Linked DNA regions of Homo sapiens: regions 2, 3, 4, 5, 6 and 7 are each linked to region 1. Evidence: promoter capture Hi-C in 16 types of primary human blood cells and fetal thymus (Javierre and others, 2016). All regions are on one chromosome and are shown on one strand. The core of a region is centred on a gene start or on the middle of the fragment in contact, and the rest is flanking DNA. Distances in the headings are between cores, read along the strand shown. Region 1 holds the start of HDAC4 (histone deacetylase 4). Region 2 has its middle 47 kb from the start of MIR4786. Region 3 has its middle 90 kb from the start of MIR4786. Region 4 has its middle 110 kb from the start of MIR4786. Region 5 overlaps LOC150935 (a long non-coding RNA gene). Region 6 overlaps LOC150935 (a long non-coding RNA gene). Region 7 has its middle 170 kb from the start of LINC02991.

Region 1 (3,183 bases), core at 485-2,984:
AAATTACCTCTGCAAGCATTAGATCCCAGAGCTCGTTTCACGTGACTTTTTGCGCAGGCACTTCTCTTTGTACGTGAAAAACTAACTTTGGTAGACTTACAGGCAGGTTTTAATATTTTCTCGTGATTGTATGTTTTTGAGAATCCTGTCAAATGATACTGAATCTTATCTAGATGTTAGCTAGCTACAGACCCTGTTTCATTCTACATGAAAATTAGATAGTGCACCGTTTCCATCAGCAGCCAAGTCTCCAAAACCCCGTAATTGCTCTCCTTTTCTTCAGCTGTATCTTGTTTTAAAGTTCTCTAATTCACCATTCCTTTCCTTCTAAGTTTAGCCTAAGCATTTCTTGCAATGACCAAAGTTTTCTAATTATTAATGAGATATTTAAGGAAATGTAAAATTGGCATTTTTATTTTGCTAACTGTATTTTTATCCACATAACTAGTTTCCCCCACCAAGAATCACAGGTCGAGAATGCTGTAAAAACGGATCCTTTCTCAGCTCCTAAAAGGAATGGCCTACAATCGAAGCGAACGCGCATCTCCGCCAGGTCCGCAACCACAGGCCCACGCCGTCGGGCCCCACGAACCGGCGCGCGCTGTCAAAGGCGCTTCCTCCCTGGAACGCGGGATTCCGGGGACAGTGTGTGCACTCAAGTTGAAAAGTTGTCATACTCCTGTTGGAAAGAAACGGAAACATCACCACCAGGAGGGTGGCCACTGAAGACCCTCGCCGACACCTGCTGGCAACCAAAGGCGCTTCCGGGGATCTACGGGCCGACCTGTAACTCAACACAAGCCTCCCAAGCCCTGCGGCCTTAAAACAACGCCCACCCGGGCGGTGCGCCGTTCCCGCCACCTCCACGCCTGCCTGGACCCGGACTCGAGACCCTGGCGGCGGGCCGGGCTCCCTCCGCCTGAGCAGGGACGCGGCGAGCGCATCCCACGACCCTCGGCAGCCGTTGCAGGCCTGGCGGACCTACACCCCACACCCTCACGGCCGCGTTCCCGCCGCGGGGCAGGGCGAGGCCCACGGCGCCTGCGCACTCAGTGACCGGGCCGCCCTGCGCCTCCGTGCGCACGCAGCACCACGTGACCCACTGCCAGTATCCAAGATGGACGCCGCGGCGAGGCCTGGCCGGCTCCCCGCGTTAGCCTGCACCCCATTGTGTGCCCTCTAAGCGCGAATTAGGCTCGCAGACATGCGGTGCTGACCGCTAGGCAGCCATGCGGGCTACCGAGTGCGACCGGACACGGCCGGGGCCCGTGTTTACGGCCACTACTGGCCCCCGGTCCCTGCGCCTCCTCAACCGCGAAGCACCCAGCGGCTGGCGCCTGGAGCGTCTTTTGGTACGCCCCACCCTCTAGAATTGGCAGCTCCAGCAGCCAATGAGGTCCAGGACGCGTGCGGGGAGGCGGGCAGGGGTGGAGCCTCTCTGCCGCTCATAGGGCATCCGGCCCCGCGGTTGAGCAGCCGCTGGGCGAGGGGTGGGAGCAGACGGGCTGTGCGCAGGTTTCAGCGGGCCAATGGAAGGCCGGCCAGGCGCCCGGGGCGGGCGGGCGGGAGGCGGGGCCGAGCCGTAATTGACGAGCTCTTCATTAGAAACCAGGCGGGAGGGCGGGGCCCGCAAGGGGAGGTGACGCAAGGCTGCCGCAGCCAATGGTTGGCGAGCCGCCGGCTGGCTGGGCGGGGCCGGGCCGGCTGACGGGCGTGCGGGGTGGCCTATCGCCGCCTGGCTCGACGCTGGAGTGGGGAGAAGCATCATGGTTCAACGTGGGTCAATTTTTTGTGAATGAGGAGGGGAGGTTGTGGGGCCGCCGCCGCGGAGCACCGTCCCCGCCGCCGCCCGAGCCCGAGCCCGAGCCCGCGCACCCGCCCGCGCCGCCGCCGCCGCCGCCCGAACAGCCTCCCAGCCTGGGCCCCCGGCGGCGCCGTGGCCGCGTCCCGGCTGTCGCCGCCCGAGCCCGAGCCCGCGCGCCGGCGGGTGGCGGCGCAGGCTGAGGAGATGCGGCGCGGAGCGCCGGAGCAGGGCTAGAGCCGGCCGCCGCCGCCCGCCGCGGTAAGCGCAGCCCCGGCCCGGCGCCCGCGGGCCATTGTCCGCCGCCCGCCCCGCGCCCCGCGCAGCCTGCAGGCCTTGGAGCCCGCGGCAGGTGGACGCCGCCGGTCCACACCCGCCCCGCGCGCGGCCGTGGGAGGCGGGGGCCAGCGCTGGCCGCGCGCCGTGGGACCCGCCGGTCCCCAGGGCCGCCCGGCCCCTTCTGGACCTTTCCACCCGCGCCGCGAGGCGGCTTCGCCCGCCGGGGCGGGGGCGCGGGGGTGGGCACGGCAGGCAGCGGCGCCGTCTCCCGGTGCGGGGCCCGCGCCCCCCGAGCAGGTGGGCTCCGGGCCGCCGGGAGTGAGGGCGGGGGCGGGCGGGCGCCGGGGCCGGCCGGGCGCCGTTTATGTAACTTTGTCAAATGCTGTGAGTTTGCAGAAAAACGTCCCTGCCGGGGGTCCGCGGCCCCGCGCTTGTCGTCGCCGCTGCGAGCGCCCGGGGGGTCGCGGGAGGGCGGGGGGCTGCCCGGGACCCGCTCGGCTCAGCCCGCAGGGCGCCAGCAGGCCGAGACGGGGCCCGGTCCCGCTCGGGGGTGGGATCCGCGTTTGCCGGCGTTGCGAAAACACACCACGGAATCATAAGCAAATTATCTCGTATTTACATTGAGCGTTGAATTATTTGACACTGTTATAGGAGGAGACCGTGCGTATCAGTTGGAAAGGCCGGGGGTGGAACCCAGTGTACTCATTTAATGCACATCAAAAATTTGTAATAACTTGAGGCAGCTGATATGAGTGTTTTCTTTATTGCATGTTGTAAATTGACCTGCTGTGACACAGTTTTCAAATAAAGCGTTGCAGAAATTAAACTTAAGTTATTTTAAAACTAATGACTTTCTTCACTAAATCCTAATTGCATGACTGTAGAGACCTACCTAATTGCTTGCTGAGAGCAGTTCTGCTTGCTCTCCGTGAGGGAGGAAAGGGCCTGTGCAGTCACTTTGCCGCCCCGTTTTTCTCTGTTCAGGCTTTTCTGTTTATTCCCACAAATCACCGAAGCAGTTAAGGCCTGGGAGTAAGCCTGTAAACAGTCCTGGCCCAGCGCCAGCCCAGCAGGACTGGGGGGATACTGGCAGGTTTGCACCT
Region 2 (3,183 bases), core at 396-2,895, 500 kb before region 1:
TTGCTCCATCTGTGAGCTGGGCCCCGGTTGGTTCCTGCAGTTCCGTTTTCTCACAGAGCAGGCAGCCTGGCTCTATATTCCAGCTTAGCCAGACACCAAAGCCATTCCAGTTTTCTTGGTAGGGATGGTTCCTTCTCCCAGTGTCCTGCTGATGAAAGGAAGAGGGATCCCAGAAGGGAAGGAACTGAAGGGATGCAGGAAGGGGCTGTGTGCCCCAGGGGATGCGCGTGCTTCTGGAGCTGAGGCTGGGATGGCAGAGGGAGGGGTGAACCTGGCTCACTCCCACTACTGGCCTGGGTGCTGCAGTCTCTGGGGGCTGAGTGACCTCCAGGGCGGCCATCAGTCTTCAGGGCCTCCCAACAGCAGGGTTTGGTGGCTTTAGGCCTGGGGACAGGCAGTTAGGTAAGAAGAAGAGGAGGAGGAGGAGGGCCCAGGAGAGGAACTGAATTCAGAGGGAAGCTGCCGGCCTGGAATCCGGAAGCCTGGGACTCTCTTCGGCCCTCCAGCACTTCATCAAGTATGGATGCTTTTCAAAATATAACAGACACTTGTCAATAACAACAACAAAAATAGTCAGCTTTTCCCCATTTGGTTTTATTAATCTGAGGCCATATTTAGGCAAATCCAATCTACTCCTGTGTCTAAACTTGTCTCTAATTTACATGTGTGTGGTACGTGCATGTTAATTTTTTTTTTCACTTCAAGAAAAAGTATGATCTAAAAATGTATTTTTTCCCTAAAGAGTCATGGGAAGAATCAATTTATCACAAATAATTTTAGTGATAGAATTTCTAATAAAAATAGGATTTTTCTTGAATTTTTACTAAATAAAAACTTGAATAATTAGCTACTGCAATGTATAGAGTTACATCTTCAAGAAAGAACATTATAGTGTGTCCTACATGCTGGGAAATTTTCCATATTGCTCGAAGAAATGAAAAGAAGGGATACGAAGTTGAGATAAAAAGTGATTTCCATGCCAAAGCTCTCATGTGTGGATCATAGTTCAGTCTTCATTAACTCCTTACTAATTTATTGCAAAATAAGGTAATTAATTCAGTGTTGAAAATATAATTCCTTATAAACTAAAAGAAAAGATTTGTTTAAGGAATACATAATAAGTACACACACATACACACATACATATGTTATTTTCCTTCTTTCTGTTATAGAACATTTAAAAAACTTTTTAAAAAGTAGAATAAAATGATGAACCTCTGAGATTCAAACATTTTCAATATTTTGCCAATCTTGTGCCAACTATTCCCCTGCTGTTTTTTTCTAAAATACATCAAATCCCAAACATCTTGTTGTTTGACTTGCAGATGACTTGGTCTGCATCTTTCACGGATCGGGCATTTTCCCCACGTAACCACGACACATATGACTATCCTTCACTCTAAACTAAGAAGACTTCCTTTACCTCTATAGCATCAAATACAAGTTCATATCCAAGTTTCCCTAATTATCCAGAAATGTGTTTTTACAGTTGGTTTGTTTGAATTAGGAGCCAAACAAGTTGGCATTTCCGATGATGGAACCTGTTTCAGCCTCTTTCCTCCCTTCCGTGGCCCCACTGGCTGGTTGCAGTGTCTGGGTCATTGGCTGCAGTGCCCCCAACCCTGGATTTGCTGTGTCCTTGTGGTGGTGTTTAACATGCTCCTCTACCCTTGAATTTCCTGTCAATTGCAGTTAAGACGAGGGTACTGCCAGCTTCACAGGCGTGCAATCTCATGGGGCCTTGCACTTAAGAAGGGCTCTGTGCTGGGCTTAATGCTCGGCCAGGTCTGCCCTGAATCTTGATACCTTTGCCTTTGAACTTGTGTTTTGGAAGCACTGCACAGCAGGGGCAGGAGCACAGGAGATTTGCATGATATGCACGTCTGCCATTCCTTGCCTCTCCATTCACACGCGGCATTGGTGACACAGTGAGCACAGAATTCCAGTGACCCTAGGATGCACGGGAGACCAGCAGGACTCGAGGCCAGGAACAGGTCACTGTGTGTGTTTGCCACTGAGTCTGTGGGAAAGCCACACCTTCCACATGAGTCCACTTCAAATGTAGAAAGAAGGCAGTGGCCTTGTGAATAACACCAACAACCAAAGACCCTATTGTACTTTTTCTTACTTATTCTACTTTCGTGTATTAGCCAAGCACTTACACTGAAAACAATGCATGGACGGAAAGAAGACGGGAAAAGCCACAGTTCCTTCTTTCAGTTCTTCCATTTTCACCAGTAAGCTGCAGGCAGTGTCAAGAAGGCAGTAGCACGGCCAGTATCGAGAAGTGAAATCAAAACCCTTGGTTTAGTTTTGCACAGCACTTCCACTGTTAAGGTAAAAATTAAATATACATACATATGTGAGCTACAAAATAGGAATCGTGTAATCTCTGTGTTTCTGCATGGGGATCTAATGCTTTTATATTTGTATTTAAAACTGACATTGCACAATATAAAATGAACAGTAACATTCAGCTAAAACATAAAAATTGAAATTTTCTTTACTTAGGATGACCTTAAGTAGCAAATAACAATGGTAAATTATTAGAGAGAACAGAGGAAAAGGAAAAGTTTTGTTTTTTAACACTGTTAAGAGCAGTTTTCCCTGTTTTGTGAACAAGGGACTGTGTGTTTTCATTTTATAGTTTCTCCCCTAACCTATCACTTTTGAAGTTGCTGCCCTGGCTTCAGAACCTATGAGTGTGGAGTAAAGCCCCACCTACACCTGCACAGAGCTCGGGCTCCCCTCCTCACTCATATGCTCTGTGGTCACTGTCCTCTTCGTCTCTAGGTCCCAGCAGACCAGGAGCACAGATGGGTCAGCCTACTCAGTTCTCCACTGGGCTCCCTGTTCTCAGAATGGTCTGTGTGTGGAGAAGACTCCTAAGTGCCTGGGAATAGGTAAGTGAGTTGGGGCAGAGGCCTGGCAGGCATCCTGGAGAGGGAGGATGTGACGTGGACTGGGTCAGTGATGGATGGTGGGGATAAGGAAGAGAGGGTGAAGGCAAGATTCTTCTCTACAGGGCACTGAAAGCCAGTGCCCGGCTAAGATAGATGTGGGGGTGAAGGAGAGACTGGGAAACTGGGTTCTGGGTTTCTGGTTTGGGCGACTGGGTGGATGGGGTGTCTTTACCTGAGCTGCTTCCTGAAGAAGGGGTCAGGGTTGTGGGAAGAGACTTCG
Region 3 (3,183 bases), core at 223-2,722, 450 kb before region 1:
GCTCGGCCACCCTCATGGGAGCCTGGATTCTCCCTCAGAGACACAGCAAAGGGAGGGGCTACATATAGGTGGGCATATAAAGGAGTTTGATGCTGCCGATGAGCTTTAAGGCTCTGGGGTCAAAAATGAGCGTGGGGTGTGTGCACACACATGCCTGGCTTCTCTAATACTGGATGCACCTGCACCTTGGAGGGGTCCCAGCTCACAGGCCAAACAGCAGGAGGAGGTGGAGAAATGGCCTCAGGTCTGGTGACAAAACACCAGGGCAGTGGAAGGCTGCAAGTAAACGTTTTTCATGTACACTGGAATAAAACTGTCAGCCTTGTACTTCCTTTGCCAATTTCCTTTTCAAGGCAAGGGAAACAGAGCCAGCTGTGAGCCTAACACAGCAGGACATTTTGCTCGGGTACCAGTGTAGTTGACATCAAACTCAATGGGATCAGTATGGGCTTAGGTTGTCAAGGGAACCTAAGATCCCTTTTGCCACCCAGAGCCTGTTCAGAACGGGGACATCTAGTCATGGAAAATGGTAAAATTATCATAAGATCAAAGAGCAACTTGTGCGAAAGGACCTCTCTTCTTCAAGGGAAAAATCAGACTAGATTGATAGACAGTTGGGAATCTAGCTCTGGTTTGATTCTTAGATGAAGGAGAGCCCGAGGTAAAAATCAGAAAAGAGACCACATTAATTTTCAGGACCAAAAAAGTAGGAAAAAATAACTTTTTCTGAACAGAATGTTCTTGGTTGACAGGGATGCCTATAAGTGAGACCAGCCTGGAAGGCAAGGTTGTGTCATGCCTGGAAGCCAAAGTCCCTGGGTAGTCCCTGCGCCCTTTTTAACCGCTGGGCAACATGGGGAAGGCACGTGGCTTCCCCGGGTCTCCCTTCCCTTCCCTGTGTGCTGGTGGACTGGAGCGGGAGGGCCTCTGATCTGCAGGTGCCGAGGTCCCAGACTCTCCCCAGGTGGAGCCAGGCTCCGCCTGATCAGGGGAGGAGGCTGCAGGATTCTCATCCTCATACTGAGCTGGAAGGAGCTGGGTCAGCAAGGAATGGCCTGTTCCTCAGCCGGATGGTGAAGAAAGTAAGGCAGCATGAGAGGCCTGCTTGACACTTTTATCCATTTTGCTACTGGGATTCCCAATCAGATTTTATTTTTCAAAAGTGTTTGTGCTAATTGTTTGACAAATATGAAATTAATCAGAGTTCAGCGGTGTAGCTGACATGAGCTCTCTGTGTGAAAATCCAAATCTTGCCTATGCACCAGTAGACATCAATTAAAAAATTATAGTACAAAAACAGATTGTGTTTCAAATCCCTACAAAAATATGTCCTTAGAAACATGCCTGAGAATTGTTTTATGGAGAAAGTCATACAGATTTCCTGACAGACAAGAGGACAAGAAAAAATCGAGAAGGATGCCATGTCATAGGAGGGAAAGACTCCTTGTTGTAAACGTATCAGTTCACCCCAAATTAACTTATAAAATCAATGCAAATCTAATCAAAATCGCAAAAATGTAATAGAAAAAAAAGAGTTTTCAGAGGATGTCAGCAAGATGGCTGATCAGAGTTACCTGCAGCATCCCCTGCCCCACAACACACACAAAAAGTACCAAAACAACAAATAAGCAACTGTATTTCAACCAGCATGACTGAGGATGTACACTGGAGAGCACCAGGGCCGTGGCACAGTCTGTGGAGCACAGAAGCCCAGGATAGCACCGTAAAGACGAGAGCAAGGCATCCTGCTTCTGCCACACTGTGTCCCCCGCCCAGGACTGGCTCAGAGTCAGGGCCGATTTCTTCTTACGGGTAATGGAGATCCACAGCACTCCTCATTGCTTTCACAAACACCAGCAATCCTTGCTACGGGAAGGGCCCCCAGTCCTCACAGGCCCCAAATCCAGTTTGGAGAGTAGCTGGGACTTGTTGCAGTTATATTACCTGAGTAGGAGCCTGAACTGAGTGCCCCCAACCCTGTTACCTAAGCTGCTGCAACTCAACACCATTTTGAAACTGAACCTACTAATAGGGTATGCCCTGTCCTGGGGATGAGTAGCAACCAACTATATCCATCCTTCAGGCCCTACTGTCACTACCATGTTCACACAGGTGCCTGCAGTACCTTGAACCCAACTTCCCAGAGCCTAGCCCAGACAGAACACCTGAGACCCCACCCAGCATCTGAACCCATGTGGCACACCATCCCCACCACCCCCCCACCCAGGGAACAGGTGGGCCTGCACAGCAGAGCAGTCACCCAACAGCTGGCTGGTCACCTCACCTACATGCACCTGAAATGCTTAGCCAGTCAGCCCTCTGAGCTTATGCATGTCTCTGCATAGATCAACAGCCAGCCCTGTGATGACCTTGCCCTGCTGGGTAGATTGCTATAAAGCCACCTAGCCCTACTGCATCCACATGTACCTGTCCCAATATCCAGTCCACCAGCAGCCCTGTTTCCCTAAAGAGACAGTACATACACAGTTTCCTGGCCAGCCATGCCCACGCATGCCTGAGTCTTGCATTTAATTCACCTTTTCTTGCTTCCAGAGAACCCAATGGACAGCTTTTTGGCCCTCCATATCCGTATGTGCCCAGCCCAACAACCAGCTCAGCACTCCCTCCCCCAGCAAAACCACACCACTACCATCACAAACTCCCATACCCTACACCACTGAGGCAATCACAGACCTTGATGATGAAGATTATTATATGATATGAGGAAACTATATGACAGCTGCACTACTGAGTCCACCCAGAACCAAAGCCAACATCCTAGGACATATCTACAGGAAAATGTCTTTCCCTATGAAACCTACTCCATAAAATTGGAAAAAGTGGCTATTCCACTAGATGCACAAATATCAATGTAGAAACATGAAAAAGCAAGAAAGCATGGCACCCCCAAAGGAACACAATAAATCTCCATTAGCAGACTCCAAAGATAAGGACATTTGTGAAATGCTTAAAAAGAATGTAAAATAGTGATCTTAAGGAAACTCAGTGAGCTACAAGGGAACACAGACAAATCAATAAAATAGTTTTTACAATTTCATGATTGGAATGAGAAATTCAATAAAAACACAGATAACATAAAAATAACCATATAGAAATCTTGGAGCTGAATAATTCAATAAATGAAGTTAAAAATACAATTGGGATTTTCAACAACAGAGCAGA
Region 4 (3,183 bases), core at 306-2,805, 430 kb before region 1:
AGTGCCCACATAGTGGACAGCGGCCATCGGAGTCTGACTCGGGCTCTACGGGGGGCCCACTGGCCTGCCATGACCAGCACTGTCACTTCCTCTGCGGTAGGGAGGGAAGGAGGGAGAGAAGGACTGGTCCTGCCATCTCCTTGGTGGGGTTGATGGTCCTGGCACCATGTCCCTCCCAGGGTGGAGGAGAACTCGATTTCCGAGCAACCAGCCTAGGCGTATGGTGTCTCTGCCCTTCCCTTCCCCAACCCACCTCCTCCCCCTCTTCCCCTTCTTCACAGGCACCCACACGCATGACCACAGATCTTAGCTGCCCCAAGCCACCTGGGAGCATGGCCTGCTCATTGCTGCCCCTCTGCCGGCCAGGGACAGCCATGGGTGGGGCAGACACTATGATACCCACAGCATCTTCATCTCCAGCTTCCCGGAAGGGCTGGGGTCTGTCCACTGCCTCCACCTCTGCTCATTTACTCTCTTCGCCCAGGGCCATCTCTCCCTGGACTTTCGTGTTGCCAACCCTCCCGGCTCTGCTCGATGGGGATGGCCTTTCTCGTTTGCTCCTCTGCTGCCATTGTCCCTGGCCCCATTCTCCATGTCCCCCGTGAGGCCCCTCACCTTCCTCTCTTCCTGACAAAGCTCTCAGCCATGTTCCTCCGGGAGCCTCCTCTCCAGGGGCTGCCACCAGCTGGATCCTCCCCGTGTGCCTGCTCCCAATCTGTGCCCTCTTCTGGGTGTGCTTACCTGGGTGTCCCTCAGCCCTGGAGCCCATGATCTGCTGTGGATTCCCCACTCTCTCCTCCGTGGCTGTACTAACTCGCCGTGGACCTGGGTGGAGCTGGTGACCCTCCGTACTCCCGCTTTCCTCGGAACTGGAAGAACTTCGATGAGGCTGGTGCCTTTCAGAGGGGCCAACTGCCCGGGCTGCTCCATCTTATTCTCTCCTCCCCAGTTTAACACCAAGGTCAATGCTCTGATGTTCCTCCTGTTGTAGCTAAAGGCAGAGAAAGCCACCCAGTAACTCTGGGATCCTCCCATCCCAGGCCAACCACAGGACACAGGGAATCTGTCCTGTACTAGCCTGAGGCTGTCTCCCCGGAGGAGAGCACTAGCAAGGGACTGCCAGGCTCCTGGGCACTGAGTGGCTGGTTTGCAGACGACCTTGACTTACAGCAGAGGCAGGGAGAGCAGCAGCAAATGTGTGGGGTTCCCCACTCACTCCTGCAGGCTCTCCTGGGTCCTGCCGGCCTCCCTGCCCTGGGCGTCTCAGGATGCCCCTGCCCCTGCCCCAGGGTAACACGAGGCCCCTTCCTTCCCTTTCCTTTGACGATCCTGTCCCGGAATCACAGGGGTGCTTCCCATCTGAGGCTCCCTGGCTTTGCACACACATGTCAGACTTGGTGATACCATATGCTAGTTATTTACCAAGTGTGCACCAAGCGTTACGCTTCTGTGATGAAAACAATGGAAAGCGAAGACCTTCCCTTCCCAGTGCATCTCACTGAACCGTGGGGTGCTAGTCTGGCCTCCTGGTTTTCCTTTCTCTGTCTTTTTTTTTTTTTTTTAATTTTTATGCTTGCTTGTCAGAGACCTGATTTCCTTTGACTTGCTTCTGATATGTTATTGCACACACTCTGAACTCCTGACCTCAAGTGATCCACCTGCGTCAGCCTCCCAAGATGCCGAGATTACAGGCATGAGCCACCGGGCCTGGCTGTACAGGAAAAAGGTTTAATGGACTTACTCTTCCACATGGCTGGGGAGGCCTCACAATCACGGTGAAAGGCAAGGAGGAGCAAATCATGTCTCACATGGATGGCAGCAGGCAAACAGAAAGAGCTTGTGCTCCCCTTTTCAAAATGATCAGATCTCATGAGACTTATTCACTCCCCTTTTTAAAACTATCAGATCTCATGAGACTTATTCACTGTCATGAGGACAGCATGGGAAAGACCCATCCCCATGACTCAATTACCTTCTACTGGGTCCCTCCCACAACATGTGGGAATTCAAGATGAGATTTGAGTGGGAACACAGCCAAACCATATCAGCAGGGCTCAAGAGATATTTGTTGAGTGAATAAATGACCTGGTTTGTGAATTTCCACAGTTACTTACTTCCCTATTCATTTTCTCAAATTGCAATATGGAGAATTCTCTGCTTCCCTCATGGGATGATAGTTTATATGTGACAGAGCTTTGTGCCTGGAGTGACTGTTTTCACTAAGGATAACCGAGCAGCCCGTGACCCCCCCAAGACCAGCCACGTCACCCTCACTGGGAGTTTGCAGAACAGCAGCGCCTCCCACCGAGGCCACCAGTCAGTATCTGCATCCGCTAATACCTGCAGGGAGGCGTGCACCACCCCCAGCCCAGAGGCTCCGTCTCGGAGGGAAAGTTCCCTTGAGGGAGCAGGGAGGCCTGCAGTCAGCATGTGAGCCCTCCGGGCTGTTCTGCAAAGCTGGCCAGGAGGGCTGGGCTCATGGGGCCAGGCCATTATCTCTCATCCCCCGGTTTACACTTTCCCCACATTCCTCCCAGCCCGGAAGGGTCAGCAGCTGGTTTCTTAGGGCCCCCAGGGGGCATGTGTCACAGAGCATGTGCAGAGCCTATTGTCAGCCGCAGCAGCCATCGAGGAGCCCTCCTCGCCCATTTCCTGTGGGCCATTGATCCTCTCATGGCCCTTTCCAGCTTTAGACCAGCTGGCTGCCATTCTAGGCACTTAGCGTGTGCGGAAAAATTTTATGTTTTCATGATATCAGCAGGAAAATAGGAAATGGCTTGGAAAACAGGGAGGCATAAAACAATGGTTTGAGGAGAGTGAGCCTTGGATAAACATCCCTGGTTGCCCTTTGGAATGTGTGGATTTAAACACACACTCAGGAATATATGCTCCGTGGTGTGAGAGATAAACATCCTGAAACTCATTAGGCCAGCAGCTCTGTTCTAGCAAACGCTGCTGAGGGACGCAAGAAGGGCTGGCCAGGGCCCAGCACAGGGTACCCTGCAGCTGCTTGGCCCTGCTTGTGAAGGCAGGGGACCTGCCATTGGCCTCAACAGCACAACCTGGCCCAGTCACCTAACAGGTGCAATGCTCCCCATGAGCTCTGCATGTACTGGGCCAGTGCTGGGAGCCCAGGTCCCTGCCAGGTGGGCTTGGGGTCTGGTGCCTGGGGAGGACGGTGGC
Region 5 (3,183 bases), core at 429-2,928, 390 kb before region 1:
ACCCTGTTCCACTCCTTCACTTTCCAGGCCAGGAAACGGAGGCTCACAGCTTCCTGCTGCTCACAGATAAAGTGAATTTCAGTCTGGGCCTTGTGGCGCTGCCCCCAGGATCTGGGGCGGGGTGAGAAAGCGCTGCTCTGAGAATTGAGCCTGGTGAGGGGCCCAGTCTCTGAATCTCAGACCTGCCTTTCACACTGTGCTCCAGGGCCAGGGGCCTGCAGGTGCAATTTTACATACTCCACTGTCCTTAATGTCTACAACTGTTGAAATTCCAAAAATACAACAATGACTTTCTCTTTTAGAAAAAAATCGACCTGTCCAAGACTTGGAAGCCCTAGAGAAATGTGGCCTGGTGCCATGGGACAAAGACCACACAGAGGCTGGCTGTGGCACACCCCCAGGAGGTAATCCTGCTCTCCTGAGGCCATCCTCGTGCTGGACATCAAGTATTCCCTCCAACGTCCGTGTCCCTAGGCACTGAGGACACAGAGATCTAGCCTCAAGTGGTTTCAGCAGGAACCCTGTGGGGTTAAATTCCCAACACGACTAATGAGGCAGGAGTAAGGGTAGGAGGCCATACTGACGGGTCTCCCTGTGGGAAGCCTGGAAGACTCTTCCCTGCACCTTCATGCATCAGCACCTGACTCTTTTGCAAGGTAAGCGCTCTTGCAGGATACCAGCCGCCTGCCAGATGGTTACCTGTTCCTGATCCCTGGCCCAGGAAAGAGAACAAAACCCCTTTTTCCTGATGTAGCTTCCTCAATCTCCAGCCAATCACCACCAAAAGCCCAAGAAGCTATTAGCTATAAATTCTTGCCTTGTGGGGGGTGGCCAGGGACTTCTCCAGGGTCCCTCATGTGCTAGGCTCAAGGTTTAGCTTATAGTGACCTTTTCTTCATTTTAGTAGTCCAAACACATCCACAGGTGGAGATTTCATATGCTAATTATGCATGGAATACGTGTTAGATCATGTAGATTCTGAGCACATGCGCTAGCCGCAGGTCCGCCTTTGCACACCTGACCTCACCAGTGTTTTATGAATATTCATACACAGCTCCCATAAGGGGAATTCCTCTTAAGGCACTGGCTGCTGTCTCTCCCTTTGAGAGGTCCACCCTGCCTCTCAGAGTGTACCTTTGCTTTGCAATAAACTTCTTTGCCTACTCTTACTTTGAACTTGCTCTCAAATTCTTTTTGTGACAAACTCAAGAACCTGAACCAACCTACCAATAACACTTTTACAACATGAAAATTCAAGCACAGCAACTAAATTAAAGTAGCTCGATGGCCTGATCCTTGGCTTTTCAGTCACGTGAATGCTTAGATCTTAACTGATTTCCTCAGGCTATTTTTAACAACAGTGGCTCTGTTGATATAGAATAAATACAAGCTAGCATAGCCAATGACTACTCATGGGAGCAGTAGGTAATATCAAGGTGTTTTTCCTCTTCCCCAACGCTGGAGATATTTATTAGAAAGGGAAAGTGAAGGGAGAAAGGATAACCACATGTTCATGCTAAGAGGACCCATCCATCACTTTAATTCAAGTCAGAATTTAAAAATATCGCACTACGTTCTTGTTTGTTGGATCCAGAGATCCAAGTTATTGGGCATTTCAATCTTGACATTTGCATCCAGACAGTTTGCAAAGGGTAAAGGTAGAAAATGCTGTAAACCCAATCAACTGCTGCTTGATATTCCAAGTAGGGTGAGTAACCTTTTCAAATAATAGAGGAACTTGTGAGTGATAAGATGAACTTTGACCTCTGGAATCACAGATTCTTGGTAATGCATCTCTTTACCTTTGACTTGCCTTCTTTATAAATACCTTGAGGTGCTGGGTTTTGATAATAAAGAAACAAGATCTAGTAAATCTTGTAGAGCTTACAGGCAAGATCCCATATGTCACTGTGGTGCTTTCTGGCTGCAACCGCAGCAACCTTCATGACACCCTGTCATCCTGCCTGGCCACACTGGCCTTTCCAATTGCAGAAACACTCTTGGGGGCTGGAGTGGGTGCAATCCTGCATCATGACCAGAGCTTTCCAAGAAGGGATCTTATTCCAGCCTGCCGATGTGCATGGGGCAGACCTGCCTCAGTCACCCTGACTTCATTTCTAATTGCTTTTTCTAATGACGTGGTGCTGTGGCTGAGATGGGCAGCCTCGCCATGGTGACACTGCCCGTGTAGATGTAGATGAGGTCAGCTCATCTACATCTGCCTCTGCCATTCCAGTGGCCCATGGAGCTTTGGTTGCTGGGTCTCCAGGGACATAAGGCACAGTAACCACTGTTCAAACAGGACAGTCCTCAGCGTAAAGAGGACAGTAGAAATGATAAAAATATGTAATGTTTGAAATATGTATTTATTAACCAGCAAATTGATTACATTACATTACTGAATCCATAAAATAGCTCCGTGAATAAATAAATTTCAAAAATAACATTCCTATTAAAAATAATGTATTTTCATGTTCATCAAAGCAAAATAATCTTTATATTGGATATCTGAACACTGAAAAAATAGCCAAACAGATTATTCTTGATATATATTCATATACTATATTTGAATCTGCTACTTAGCCATTTCTCTTTTCATGAAATTCATAGTTTATCTCTCATCTTTTTAATCTCTTCATAAAATTACAATCTTCTTTAAATTTTTGCTTTATCATTAATAAATTTAAAATGATAGACACCTTCAATGGACTCTTCTCTGCTGCCCATCGTATGTTAGAGAAAACATTCTCTCTAACCGTGCTGAGGTATCAAGTAAGTGCAGCAGAATTTCTGCTAAGTGGAGGATAATCTTAATTCTATTTCTCATATATAAGTGTGTAAATATTTCAGGCCAAATGTTTCCATAGATACTATCTTTATGCCTCCATTCAGAGTACATTTTTTTTGGCAAAGATAGGATAAAACTTGTCAAATAAATTGTGTCTATTTATGGTTCTTTTGAATCTCTCACCATATTTAGATCATGCAAAACTGTAAGACTTCTCAATTTAATTCCATTCTGGTACAGAGTATAAATTTATCCAATTAAAAATAGGTGCTCCCTCGAAAGATTTTTCCCACAAATTGAGATATACTAAAGCAAAGCCATACAATTTGAAAATTAAAGCTCATACATGGCTAGAGCTTTCACCAAGTTAATGTGTTCGATTTCTTCTTTAATTT
Region 6 (3,183 bases), core at 308-2,807, 360 kb before region 1:
AGTCTGCGGGAGCAGATGGGAAACTGACGGAAAGCCAGGGAGGAGGGGGAGGCAGGGTGGCCGGACACCTGGAGGCCAGGAGTTGGCCACTGCAGGGCACCCCTGCCTTTGTGGGAAGGAGCCTCCTCCCTCGAACCCTGCAGCCCTCAGCATGACTCAGAACACGCAAGTTTTCCCACTTAGAATTGCAGGGTGTGCTTCTGTGCTAAGGTGGCCACAGCGCACATGGACGTGAGGACTCAAGCACGGCCCAGAGTCAGACTACACTCTCCACCTCCCATCACCATGACCGCCAGCTTCTCCAACAAAAGGTTCTGGGTGCTGGCGAGGTCCCCAGGGCACAGCGCTGGGTGTGAGAGTGCACAGGCAACTCTGATACGGCCCTGCCCTCAAACAGCTCCAGGATGTGTGGGGAGAGAGACATCTGGACACCAGTAACATGTTTCGGTGGCACGGTACTCACAGGCCCGCCAGCCTCCAGCCTCTCTGCTCCATATGGGGTGCGGCTGTCCCTGGGACGGTCACCTACAGAGGCCAGCAGTTGGCAGGCCATCTTCATCTGAGAGGCAGGGAGCAGGACGGAGGGAAAGGCTGCTTTGAAATCCTGTCCCTTCACCCAAACCAAGGACACTTGACGATAAAGCAAAGCTCCCTAGGAGCGGACGCTTCAACCTGTCTCCCCAGGTACCTCCCTGTGCACCCCCCATTCAAACCTGCTTCCCATGGGGATGCCTGCAAGGACACACTCTGAAAACACATCCCAGGAGATGAGCGGCAGTGTGAAACGACCCTGCCCACGAGGGTAGGCTGCGTGTCCAAAGGAGACCGACTGCCCTGGGCTGCTGGGCAAGAGAGTGTGAAGGCTCTGAATCGGCATGCAGAAGGCACTCGGTAAGTGCTAGAGGAACTTGAATCTGCCACGTGGGGATGACAAGGTGCTCTGAGCATCTACTGCTGTGTAACACATGACGCCTGAACTTGGTTGAAATAACAACAATCGGTCACTGAGCTCACCAGTCTGCACTTTTGGGGTGAATGGGGCTGAGAGACAGAGACAGAAAGGGAGAGAGAGGGGAAGCTGGCCACGTTGCTCTGGGAAGACATGTCTGGGCAGTCCTCCCGTCATGGCAGTGATGGTGGGGTATGCTGGTCAGCTGTTTCTCACTAGAGAGAAGAACCCTTTCGAGAGGCCTCCCTCCCTTTGGCCAGGTCAAGAGCTAAGGCTGAATGTTACCTGGCATGCTGTGAAGTCCCATGGGCCTGTGGCCCTGCCTGACTCTTGGGGAGCCTGCAGAAGTGAGGAGGGGTGAGCAAGAGGACACCAGGAGGAGAAAGATCAGTTCGGGGGAATCAGCACCAGGCTGGAGGGCAGGAAGAACAGCCGTCCCCACTCTCCACTTAGGATGGCCAGGCCTAGAGCCTGCAAAGAGGTCAACCCTTGAAATTCAGAAGTCCCAGGCCAGGCTGCTGGCTCTGAACCTCACATATGAATTCTCCTGAGCCACTCCACATCCCTGAGACTCAGTTTCCTCATCTAGGAAAGGGTTAATCACTGCACTTTCTTCCCAGCTTGGGTGAGTGGCATGTGATGCTCGGGGCCCCGCTGCATGGCATGGAGACCCCTTTTCTGATCGTGAGATCATCTTAGTTTCCACGCAGCCATGTATTTTGTCCCTCACGTTCGCACAGCCTAAGATTTTGTCTGTTACCACCTACCCTTGAAAGGCCGGTGAACCTCAAGCCTCTTCCGTGTGCACCTGCAGCTGCAGCCTGAGTTGATGGCAGGGCCTGCTCTGCCCCCAGGCAGCAGTGGAAAGGGCCAAGGGTCCTTCATTTCCACACCTGGGTACTCCCTAACCCTACAGGATGGATCTTTTTTTTTAGCAACTGGGGCATCTAAGAAGGAAGTACAGTGCATAGGAGGAAGAAGTGACCGGTGAAGCATCTCAACTTCATATGCTATTTGCTAAAGGCCTTTCTGCAGCTGTCTCTGGATAGGAGGGCCCCATGTTCTCCAGTGGACGTGTGTGTATGAGGAGGTCCCCATTGGACTCAATCAGATCACAAAGAGCAGGTGGCTATACCTGCAGACTTTACCTGTGGGGTCACTTCTGTGGGCTCTGACTTTGGCACACCTAGGATGACCTTGCTGGGGACCTGGGAAGAATGCCAGGGAGCTGCAGAGTTCCTTTCTTGCCTCTTGACTTGTGAGCTGGACAACAGGCCCTCTGTGCCCAGGATCCATGGGGCTCCTTCACTGGGCCCCGATGGGCAGGTCACAGAGGGTCTCCAGAAGAAGCTCTCACCCTTCACAGGAGCTGCCATGAAGGGCAAGTGACACAGTGTGCAAAAACATTGTACAAAGCAAAGCAGGCCGCACAAATCCAGAAAATGTGGAGAACAGGGGGCTGCCCAGGAATTTGGTATCATTTGTAAGTAAGACAAGAACTGCAAGTTCCAGGAGGTGGCGGTGTGCTTGGCAGGCGCCAGGCTGTGATTCTCTGACGGGTCTGATGGTGCCTGAGGCCGTCCTCAGAGGAAGGGCCACCTGCTCCATGTTAGGGAGAGAAAGCACTGCCTGCACCCTGGGAGCTGATGTTATGCCTAAAAGAAACGCACACAAGCAGAAGTGTCCTCGGGCAGATTCTCCCTCACTACAAACATCTTTCAGCCAAAGAGAAATTCTAGTTGCTCTAAGGGCAAAATCTGCAGAGCCCGTCTGATCGCTGGCATTGCTGCCACCTTCTCATCCTGCCATGCAGCCCTTCCCGTTGCACCACCCTCTCTCCACCTCTGTCACCTGACAGGCCCCACTTTCCAGGAGCCCCTCAGCCAGCGGGATTGCACTCTCAATTTCACCGCTGGGCATTCCTAATGGAATTCTGCTTCTTTTCCATTTCTTTCCAGGCCTCCTTTTATCCATGAATCTTAAAATTTCCAAATGATTTAGCTAGTCCTTGGAACGGAATCCCTTGTATAGAAGAACATAACAGCTCAGAGAATAAAGACAAGTGGCCAAAGCCACAAACAAAGCTAAGGGCTGAATCGTGGCTGGAATTCAGGTTTCCAGGCCAGACCCTTCTTTGCAGCTTGGAGGAGAAGGATAAAACCTCAGCAGAAAGAAGGTGCATGAAGCAAGCTGCAGATGCTGCAGTTAGCAGGGGGAGTGAGCTGAGGAGGCAC
Region 7 (3,183 bases), core at 449-2,948, 350 kb before region 1:
GCACTAGTGGTTCTAGCCATGTGGGGTGTGGAAGGCAGGATTCCAGAGTCCCTGGGGTGAAGAGGTTGGAGAGAGAAGGAGCCTTGCGTGGGCGACACAGACTTGAACTTGGTGCCTCTCAAAAGCCCCCCGGACTCTTCCCCCTTGTCTCTGAGAGCCCTGAGGGTGAGCACCTTCTTCAGCTTTGGGCCTGCTCTGGGCCTGGCCCTGACTGTGATTCAGGGGTCCTTGGAGAACTAAATTCTGAGTAGCATGCAAACCTGTCACACGAGAGGGAAGAGACATTCTGACTCTAATGGCAGAACTCACTGGTGGGGGCTGCTGTAGGGTCAGGGCTGGGGTGTGGTGAGCTCCAGGGCGGGGCTTCCGCTGTGGGCAAGCACCGGGCACTGGGCGTGGGCAGAGGTGCTCCGCACAAGGGGAGAGTGGGAGGAAGTCAGGACGCGGGAGCCGTGCAGTCAGACCATCAGGGCGGGGTCCGGGCTGTGAGCACACGTGCTGTTGAGGATGCTGGGGAAGAAGCGGCCACAGGGATGAGGGCAGCAAGCCAGAGCAGCAGGGGACAGGCACTGCGAGACCACACCCACCCCGGCACCTTCCCCTCCTGCTTAGCAGAAATTTGGATGCGGGCTTTTCCCTAAGCAGTGGGTTTTGGAGGTTCCCAACAATTGTGCCTTAGGCTCAAGAGATGGGAAGAAATCAAAATCCCATCGGGGTCACACATTTGGAGGTTTCCGAGTTTCCTGAACACTGGACACAAGCCCAGCCTCCACCTGCTGCTACCATGGCCCAAGCGCCTTCTCCCCAACAACTCCAGGGTCTACTAAGCAGTGGGCACCGCGCCAGGCACCCAGCGGGGCACTGTCAGGGGTGCAGAGATGAACCAGACAGCGTCTGTGCCCTCAAGGAGCTTACCAGAGGCTGGGAACACAAGACAGCTGCCCTGTTCCACGTGTATGGGGTGACATCAGACACAGTCCATCCATTGTCCATTAGAAGCAATCCCCCAACTCCCAGCAGGAGGGCCGGGAGGCTGTGCCGGTTCAGGGGTGCACTGGAACCCCGAGTCCTTTCTCCATCCTACCTCACCTTCCCCCGTGGCTTTGCTTCATCCTAGAACTAGAGCAAGACCACAGCTGCAGCTCCAGCCGGGACAATGCCCTAGGAAGTGGGAAGTGGCTCTCTGCCCAGGAGACCTATTAGACAAACAAACAACAAAACAAAAAAGAAGCTTTTTGTGATGGCAAATTTCAAACATGGACAAAAGTGGAGAGAACCGGAGAATGGGCGCCAGGCCCCACCTCGGCATGTGGGTGGTGCTCCCTCCGCCTGTCCACCCTCCTCTCCTCTCTCCTCATGCCCCAACCCGCCCCCCACACCTGTGGAAAATGCACACTCATTCCTCAGTATCGGGGTTCACATTTTCCTGATGGTCTATCCTTTGTTTTACAGGTTTAAAAACAATTGGAATCAGGACGCAGTTAAGGGCCGTGCATTGTGATTGGTTGGGGTATACGTTTTAGCCTGCAGGTCTCCTTCCACATCTGTTTTTACATTAACTTTTAAAATGTTTTACTACTTATTTGTTTGTTTTTGTGGTGGTGGTTGTTAAAGAAATTGGATCATTTCTCATTTTCTGAGTTTTGCTGAATACATCCCAAGGGTGGCATTCAACCTTTTTCCCTGTCCCCTGTAATTCCTGAAAGCTGTCGACAGGCTCCGCCGGGTATTTTGGGGAGGCTGCGCTTAGACCCTGCTGCTGGCTTTCATCTGGAGGCACGCGGGGTCCTGCTTTCTCTGGGATGTGTGCAGCGGCTGATTAGCTGCCTCGGTTCATGGCTTCCTCGGGGACTGCAAAACAACAATATCCTAACTCTAGGCTTGCTCCTGTGTTTATCAGCTGGAACACTCCCACCAAAACAAACTTCCCTTTCATACCAACTTAGCTGCCCTGAGGGACGGTTTGCATAGAGAAGTCAGTAAAGGCTTCATTTTTATCCTTTACTTATCCGTGTTCAGAGTAATGAGGTGGTTCTCCAGCTGCAGCCGAAGTTGACCAATTATCTTTTTGTTTTCTTATGAACTCATGGATGTAGACACAGTGGCGGTGTTACGATTCATTGCGGCTATCATTCTTATTCTCACTCAATCGTATCTGAAGCTTTGGAACAATGAGGAGATCTTCTGGGGCTTCTCTGACTGGCCCCTCCCCACGCCCACATCTCCTCATCCAGAATCGGGTCTGAAGTCCACGCCTGATCCCCCATCAGCCGGAGAGTGATGACGGAGCCCATCGGACTGAAGCTCTGGGGCTGGGATGGGCCAGCGCCCTGAGGAGTGTGACCACCTGGAGGACGGACACACCTGATCAATATGGAAGGGGATGGAGGGGGAAGGAGACAGGGAGCTGGGGCTGGGAGCCCCTGCCAGGGTGGGCCTCAGGCCTTCTGGGGCATGGGCAGACCAAGTGTATTCATGTGTGGGAGGCCCCTGGAACAGTGCAGGGACAGGGGGGCTCCATAAATACTCCCTGCTGTTACCACTGCTGTGGCCAAAAGCACAGTCATTAAAAAGTCGGCCCTGAATGTGCCGACTGTGAAGAGCCCGCGGACAGGAAAGTGACCCTGTGCCCACCAACAGGCTTCAGAGCGGAGGGTAAAAGTGGAAGCTGGTGGTGCCAGCCTCGAGGACTCAGCGCCGATGCTGTCCCCCAAGTCCCTGGGCTCGGGCGCTCGGGAGCCATGAGGGTGCTCGGAGCCACCTTTCCTCCTCTAAGCTGCTGCTGCCGCAAAGGCGCAGCGCAGGCAGGGAGCAAGGCGGAGGCTGACCTGGCTCTACGACTTCCGGGCAGAGCTGGTCCTGGCTTCCAGACGGCCAGACTCTCAGTGCTGTCTCTCATGGGCCTCACGGGAGGGCAGAGATGCTCCAAGTCCTCTCCGAGTCAGAGAGGCTTCCGATGTGCCTTGTGACAGTGACCCTGCAGTCCTTGGGTGTTCTTGTCCTGTGACAAGTCCCACAGCCTCAGCCTGACTCTCTCCAGGCTCCCCTGCACAGCCCCAGGCCAGAGAGCCTCTGCCAAGCCCCCAAGTGACAGCACTGCCTGTGCCTGACATCCCCAGACACACAGCAGGTGTGCAGATTTATGTTTGTATAGCGATAGATACAGATATTGGTATATAGATA

The links. The method cuts DNA at HindIII sites, captures the fragments that hold promoters and counts their contacts. A CHiCAGO score of 5 or more calls a contact.
Region 2: a contact is called between a fragment that was not itself captured here and the fragment with the promoter of HDAC4 in region 1, in 4 of 17 cell types (M2 macrophages, fetal thymus, M0 macrophages and 1 more). The highest score is 7.6, in M2 macrophages.
Region 3: a fragment that was not itself captured here is called in contact with the fragment with the promoter of HDAC4 in region 1 in 1 of 17 cell types (M1 macrophages); the score reaches 5.1 in M1 macrophages.
Region 4: a contact is called between a fragment that was not itself captured here and the fragment with the promoter of HDAC4 in region 1, in 3 of 17 cell types (M0 macrophages, M1 macrophages and M2 macrophages). The highest score is 10.6, in M0 macrophages.
Region 5: a fragment that was not itself captured here is called in contact with the fragment with the promoter of HDAC4 in region 1 in 2 of 17 cell types (M0 macrophages and M2 macrophages); the score reaches 8.0 in M0 macrophages.
Region 6: a contact is called between a fragment that was not itself captured here and the fragment with the promoter of HDAC4 in region 1, in 1 of 17 cell types (M0 macrophages). The highest score is 5.9, in M0 macrophages.
Region 7: a contact is called between a fragment that was not itself captured here and the fragment with the promoter of HDAC4 in region 1, in 1 of 17 cell types (M0 macrophages). The highest score is 7.5, in M0 macrophages.

What each region holds. Positions count from the first base shown.
Region 1 is chr2:239,399,571-239,402,753 of GRCh38, reverse strand. HDAC4 (histone deacetylase 4) reads left to right here and starts at 1,734. Exons shown (of 27, transcript NM_001378414.1): 1 at 1,734-1,776. It overlaps HDAC4-AS1 (HDAC4 antisense RNA 1), which reads right to left and starts at 1,318. Exons shown (of 2, transcript NR_135575.1): 1 at 1,218-1,318; 2 at 397-679. RefSeq lists an enhancer at 526-655 and silencers at 786-1,055, 1,326-1,445, 1,466-1,905, 1,916-2,085. The HindIII fragment of the contact is 12,493 bases long and covers 1-3,183 here.
Region 2 is chr2:239,894,925-239,898,107 of GRCh38, reverse strand. It overlaps a transcript of NDUFA10 not described here. Among named protein-coding and RNA genes, the nearest start is that of MIR4786, 47 kb to the left of the region's middle. RefSeq lists enhancers at 1,214-1,714, 1,715-2,215. The HindIII fragment of the contact is 7,976 bases long and covers 1-3,183 here.
Region 3 is chr2:239,851,063-239,854,245 of GRCh38, reverse strand. No RefSeq gene overlaps it. Among named protein-coding and RNA genes, the nearest start is that of MIR4786, 90 kb to the left of the region's middle. The HindIII fragment of the contact is 7,455 bases long and covers 1-3,183 here.
Region 4 is chr2:239,830,853-239,834,035 of GRCh38, reverse strand. No RefSeq gene overlaps it. Among named protein-coding and RNA genes, the nearest start is that of MIR4786, 110 kb to the left of the region's middle. RefSeq lists an enhancer at 2,152-2,667. The HindIII fragment of the contact is 5,213 bases long and covers 1-3,183 here.
Region 5 is chr2:239,786,757-239,789,939 of GRCh38, reverse strand. The region is part of intron 2 of LOC150935 (a long non-coding RNA gene); the gene reads right to left. Among named protein-coding and RNA genes, the nearest start is that of MIR4786, 150 kb to the left of the region's middle. The HindIII fragment of the contact is 5,294 bases long and covers 1-3,183 here.
Region 6 is chr2:239,763,231-239,766,413 of GRCh38, reverse strand. All of the region lies in intron 1 of LOC150935 (a long non-coding RNA gene), which reads right to left. Among named protein-coding and RNA genes, the nearest start is that of MIR4786, 180 kb to the left of the region's middle. The HindIII fragment of the contact is 3,440 bases long and covers 1-3,183 here.
Region 7 is chr2:239,744,735-239,747,917 of GRCh38, reverse strand. No RefSeq gene overlaps it. Among named protein-coding and RNA genes, the nearest start is that of LINC02991, 170 kb to the right of the region's middle. RefSeq lists enhancers at 1-585, 484-1,683. The HindIII fragment of the contact is 930 bases long and covers 1,234-2,163 here.